Linked DNA regions of Homo sapiens: region 2 is linked to region 1. Evidence: promoter capture Hi-C in 16 types of primary human blood cells and fetal thymus (Javierre and others, 2016). All regions are on one chromosome and are shown on one strand. Each heading gives the region's core, a stretch centred on a gene start or on the middle of the fragment in contact. The rest is flanking DNA. Distances are from core to core; before and after follow the strand shown. Region 1 holds the start of RAPSN (receptor associated protein of the synapse). Region 2 overlaps CSTPP1 (centriolar satellite-associated tubulin polyglutamylase complex regulator 1).

The links. Contacts are between HindIII fragments. The CHiCAGO score rates a contact against its expected background, and 5 or more counts as called.
Region 2: a fragment that was not itself captured here is called in contact with the fragment with the promoter of RAPSN in region 1 in 1 of 17 cell types (neutrophils); the score reaches 5.3 in neutrophils.

The regions. Positions count from the first base shown.
Region 1 is chr11:47,447,886-47,451,103 of GRCh38, forward strand. RAPSN (receptor associated protein of the synapse) reads right to left here and starts at 1,251. Exons shown (of 8, transcript NM_005055.5): 1 at 888-1,251; 2 at 1-265. The coding sequence starts at 1,079. The HindIII fragment of the contact is 3,655 bases long and covers 399-3,218 here.
Region 2 is chr11:47,143,709-47,146,783 of GRCh38, forward strand. All of the region lies in intron 4 of CSTPP1 (centriolar satellite-associated tubulin polyglutamylase complex regulator 1), which reads left to right. Among named protein-coding and RNA genes, the nearest start is that of ARFGAP2, 32 kb to the right of the region's middle. The HindIII fragment of the contact is 3,402 bases long and covers 11-3,075 here.

The DNA of each region.
Region 1 (3,218 bases), core at 1-2,500:
CATAGCGCAGGGCCTTCTCGAAGCTCTCCAGGGCCTTCTGGAAGACGCTGAGGCCCAGGAAGGCATTGCCCATGCTCAGGCTGACCTGGCCTCCGAGCTGGGCACCTGCCCTGGTACCAGGCAGCCCAAGGCAGGTCTTGCAGTAGGAGATGGTCTTGTGAAACTCGCACAGCTTCTCGTTGCTGCGTGCCAGGTTCAGGTAGCTCTCCAGGAGGAAGTCGGCATCCTCCAGCTCCCGGGCCGTGTCGATCTGGACCACAGCGAACTGCACACAGCGACGGTGGGCAGGTGGTGCTCAGCCTGGACTCTGAGCCTTGGACCCCAGCCTGCACTGCAGGCTCAGACCTGGAGGCCCCACACCCACCCCCCAGCCTCACACCCAAAGCAGCAGATCCCAAAGCTTCTTTTCAGACCCAGAGCTTCTACCCGCCAGCCTCAGCTACCTTCCCTACACCCCAGCCTCACCTCCCAAGCTCAGGCTTGCAGCCTTCACCTTCTATCCCAAGCCTCAGATCTGGAGTCTCCACCACCCACCCACCCCCAGCCGCAACCCTGGAGCCCACACCCCGCCAGGCTCAGACACAGAACACCAGACAGGAAGGCTGAAACCTACAATGGGCTTGAGACCCACAAACCCTCGACCCTGAGGCTGGAGAACCTCAGTCTCAGAGACTCGGGCACCACAGTTCAAGGCCACAGGCCTGAATCTGATGCCAAGACTCAGTATCTAAGACCCAGGGCCTTAGATATAAATTCAGAGCCTCGGGCCCTGGCTGCCAGCCTGTGGGACACAGGGGAGCCCGAGGAGGCCGAGAGGGGACTGGGGAGCCTGGGAGACATCCGGCCCCAGCCTGACCCTCGAACGCCCCCAGGCCGGGTACACCCACCTTCAGCATCTCCTTGTAGCGGCCCATCTCCGAGTGGGCTGTGACCAGGCAGCCCAGCACGCGGAAGCGCCCCATGAGGTCCGAGCTCTTCTCCAGCACCTTTGTCCACACCTGCAATGCCTTCTCTGTCTGGTTGGACTGGTACAGCTGGAGCCCCTTCTCGATCTGCTGCTTGGTCTGGTCCTGCCCCATCCTCCCCAAGCCCTGTGTCCCACGTGGGGTGATCCCTGGTGGCTCCGTGCCTCTAGGCACTCATGGGGCAGGAATCACAGTGCCAGCTGCCCCCCGAAACGTGGGAACAAAAGCAGCGTCGGGTGGGAGCCGGAATGGGGCCTGGATGGAGAGCAGGCGCCACCCTGGGAACAAAGCTGGTTCAGCCCGTCTGCAGCTGTCGCTGCCAGTTGGGGCCACATGGCCTCTGAGGAATGTCAGCAGCAAGGTCACGTGGGCCTCTGCTGCACCCACCCGCGAGCTGGGACGTGGCTTCCCTGAGCATACAGGCACCTTGCCACCTGGGCACCCCCTTGGGCGTCCCTTAGGCACCTCTGACACTGACCCTGACCGCCCTGGCAGCACGGGCCCTCCCAGCAGCCTTGCCAAGGGGCCAGCTCCAGCAAGTGGGCAGGCCTTGGGCTAGAGGTGCTCGGGGGAAGGAGAGCGAGGCTGGACCTGCAGGTCCGGGGAAGCCAGGTGAGCGCCCAGCCCTGCTTCTTCCCCATCAAGACACCCCTGACCGCAGCATCCCCTGGCTCTGTTCCTGAAATTCACTGAGCACCGTGGGTCACTCATCCAGGCCCAGGCTGACACCATTCACCAACTCTCACCTTAGAGAGTCTGGGAAAGACCTCCAGCTGGTGAGAGGCCTGAGCTCTAGCCTGGCTTCCTTCGAACTCTCAGTGGGACCCTAGCCAAGTGACCTGGCACCGTGGACTGAAGAGAGGAATGGTACCTGGCTCACTGGACTGCTATGAGAACTCAATGACGAAAGAGTTGAGAAGGACTTAGGACAGTGCCCGGCACAGGAAACCCCGCATGTGCTGCAAGAGGCTATTTTGCTCCATGGCAAATCCCCACCCGGGCCAGAACCCAGCCCTTGAAGTTTCAATGTCTCACTTCCAATCCCAACCCCGGGCTGAAAGGGTCCTCATAATGAGATTTAACACCAGATACTGTGGAGAAGGGCAAGGTCTTATGTAGTATTGGGGCCCCCGCTAGCAGGCCAGCTCATCCAGCCCCCCTTTCTCCTCTCTCTGCATGCCAGCCTTCTTCCTGCCCCAGGGCAAAAGTTTATCCTTTCTGGCTGGGCAATTCAGTGGTTTTTAGTATATTCACAGAGATGCACATTAATTGCCACTAATTCCAGAACATTTTAACCACCCCAAAAAGGAGACGCACACCCATCAGCAGTTACACCACTCCATTCCCCACCTTGATATGACTGAATCATGTCCCCCCGCAACCAAACGCATATGTTTAAGTCCTAACACTCAGTATCTCATAAGGTGACTGTCTTTGGAGACAGGGTCTTTAAAGGGTGATTAAGGTAAAATGAAGTCACATTGTACCTCATCCAGTTAAGACTGGTATCCCCCCCCCCTTTTTTTTGAGACAGGGTCTCACTCTGTCACCTAGGCTGGAGTGCAGTGGTGCAGTCACAGCTCACTGCAACCTCTACCTCCTAGGCTCAAGTGACCCTCCCACCTCAGTCTCCTGGGTAGCTGAGACCACAGCTGTCTAGTTTTTGTAGAGATGGGTTTCACCATGTTGCCCAGGCTGGTCTTGAACTCCTGGAGGTGGAGGTTTCAGTGAGCCGTGATTGTGCCACTGCACTCCAGCCTGAGCACCAGAGCAAGACCTTGTCTCAAAAAATAAATAAACAATAAATTTTTATTTTTAAAAATTATTTTTGAGACGGAGTTTTGCTCTTGTTGCATAGGCTGGAGTGCAGTGGCACAATCTCAGCTCACTGAGACTTCTACCTCCCGGGTTCAAGCAATTCTCCTGCCTCAGCCTCCCAAGTAGCTGGGATGACAGGTGTATGCCACCACGCCTGGCTAAGTTTTTGTATTTAGTAGAGACGGGGTTTCACCATGTTGGTCAGGCTGGTCTTGAACTTCTGACCTCAGTTGATCCACCTGCCTCAGAGCCTCCCGAAGTATTGGGGTTATAGGCGTGAGCCACCATGCCTGACCACAATACTTTTTTTTTTTTTTGAGACACTTTCCCTCTGTCACCCAGGCTGGAGTGTGGTGGTGCCATCTTGGCTCACTGCAACCTTCACCTCCCAGGTTCAAGTGATTCTCCTGCCTCAGCCTCCTGAGTAGCTGGGAT
Region 2 (3,075 bases), core at 462-2,961, 300 kb before region 1:
ATGGACTGGAAGCTTTCTGGATGGTTAAGAGCATGCAGTTGGAACCAGACTTCTTGAGTTCAAATCCTGGTTCCACAATATACTAGCTGTGCCCTTGAGAAAGGTATTTAATTTGAGCCTGTTTCCTCACTTGTAAAATGGGAATAATAATAGTTGTAATGATTGAAGGAGAAGTATATGATGTGCTTAAAATGGTGGCTGGCACAGAGTAAACTTGTCATAATCGTTAGAAATGGTAATATTAACCTTGACCTAGAAGAACACAGGCCCCATGGCATTAGAAAGATCTACTGTACATCCCACCTGTGCCCCATTAACTGGATGACCTTGAGGATATCTCTTAACTTCTCTGAGCCCTGTTTTTATATCTGTAAAATGGGGATGATAATAATAATAGTAACTAACTCATAGGGTGTTTGTAAGATTTCAGTAACACCAACAAAACCATGAACACTGCTTACCACATTGTAGACATTAAATCAGTAATAATTTTTTTTTTAGATGAAGTCTTGCTCTGTTGCCCAGGCTGGAGTGCAGTGGCGTGATCTTAGCTCGCTGCAACCTCCGCCTCCTGGGTTCAAGTGATTCTTGTGCCTCAGCCTCCCAAGTAGCTAGGATTATAGATGCCCGCCACCACGCCTTGCTAATTTTTTGTATTTGTAGTAGAGACGGGGTTTCACCATGTTGGCCAGGCTGGTCTCGAACTCCTGACCTCAAGCGATCTGCCTACCTCAGCCTCCCAAAATACTGGGATTACAGGCATGAGCCACCACGCCTGGCCAGTAGTAATTTCTTGCTGTTACAATTATGTTGGTATTATTAATAGTACCAGATTAAAAGAAAAATGAGATGTTCCTGGGTTTCCAAAGGCAATGCTTCCTGGCCTTTTTGCACTTCACAGCAATCAGAAAATAATATATAACAAAAATCTCCAGTAAAGACAAGACTTCTTGTGATTGGCCTGCAGGCTCTGGCCTCCTCCCAGCTGGGCCAAGGGGACCATCACATCTGTAAGTCATTTGAGGCCGAAGTGACAAAGGGTTGGGAAGCTCTGCTCCAAGGGTGAAGATTTAAAGCACTGGTTCTCAAACTTGAGCATGCATCAGAGTCACCTGCAGGGCTTGTTAAACCACACATGGCCGGACCACATCCCCAGAGTTCAGTAGGTTTAGGGCGGGGCTCAATAATTTATATTTCTAAAAAATTCCCAGGTGATACTGATGGTCTGGGAAACACACGTTGAGAACCACTGATTTAAAGTATTGCCTGCCATTTTTTTTTTTTTTTTTTTTTTTTTTGAGATAGAGTCTTGCTCTGTCACCAGGCTGGAGTGCAGTGGCATGATCTGAGCTCACTGCAACCTCCGCCTCCCAGGTTCAAGCGATTCTCTCGCCTCAGCCTCCCAAGTAGCTAGGACTACAGGCACGCACCACCATGCCTGGCTAATTTTTGTATTCTTAGTAGAGACTGGGTTTCACACTGTTGGCCAGGATGGTCCCAATCTCTTGACCTTATGATCTGCCTGCCTCGGCCTCCCAAAATGCTGGCATTACAGGCGTGGGCCACCGCACCCGGCTGTATTGCCTGCATTCTTATTCTGGCTGGGCATGGTGGCACACGCCTGTAATCCCAGCACTTTGGGAGGCAAAGGCAGGTGGATCACTTGAGGTCAGGAGTTCGAGACCAGCCTGGCCAACATGGTGAAACCCCGTCTCTACTAAAAAGAAACCCCATCTCTACTAAATACAAAAATTAGTCGGGTGGGGTGGCACGCACCTATGGAATCCCAGCTACTCAGGAGGCTGAGGCAGGAGAACTGCTTGAACCCGGGAGGCAGAGGTTGCAGTGAGCTGAGATCGCACCATTGCACTCCAGCCTGGGTGACATAGCAAGACTCTGTCCCTCCCAAAAAAAATTATTTAAAAAATGTTATTATTTTTTGAAATGAGGTCTTGTTCTGTCACACAGGCTGGAGTGCAGTGGTGCATTCATAGCTCACTACAGCCTCAAACTCCTGTGCTCAAGTGATTTTCCCACCTCAGCCTCCTGAGTAGCTAGGACCATAGGCACGTTCTACAAAGCCCAGCTAATTTTTTATTTTGTAGAGATGGGGGCAGTGATCTTGCTGTGTTGCTCAGGCTGGTCTCGAACTCCTGGCCTCAGGCATTCCTCCTGCCTCAGCTTTCCGTAAATTATTTTATTTTATTTTATTTTATTTTATTTTAAGATGGGGTCTTGCTGTGTTGCTGGGGCTAGACTCAAGCTCCCAGGCTCAGGCAGTTTTCCTGCCTCAGCCTCCCAAGTAGCTGGGACTACAGGTGCACACCACCACACCCAGCTAAGAACTTTTTAATAAAGAATTCCTACAAATTGGCTGGGCACAGTGGCTCACGCCTGTAATCCCAGCACTTTGGGAGGCCGAGGCGGGTGGATCACCTGAAGTCAGGAGTTCAAGACCAGCCTGGTCAACATAGTGAAACCTCCTCTCTACTAAAAATACAAAAAAATTAGCCGGGCATGGTGGCGGGCGCCTGTAATTCCAGCTACTTGGGAGGTTGAGGCAGGAGAATCACTTGAACCCGGGAGGTGGAGATTGCAGTGAGCCGAAACCGTGCCACTGCACTCCAGCCTGGGCAACAAGAATGAAACTCTGTCTCAAAAAAAAAAAAAAAAAAAAGAATTCCTACAAATCAATAAGAAAAAGATTAAGGATCTCAGTAGAAAAATAGTCCAAAGATATAAACAGGCAATGCACAGAAGAACATTAGTAATAAACCTTTGGGCATATTTTCATGCCCACACTCACTAGTAATCAGGAAACTCCCAACTAAATTGAGATACCACTTCATACCTATCAAATTGGCAAAAATTTTAAAGTCTCATAATACAAATATTGGTGAGGATGTGAAATAGTGGGAACTCTCATAAACTGTGTGTGGGAGTGTAAATTGTTACAATTACTTTCAGACAATTTAGGCAAATTTTTAAAGTTCAAGAGCTACTCCTGGGAATAAGGAAACATGCAGTATTGTTTGTAATGGCCGCCATTGGAACAATCTGCACGTCCCTCTGCTG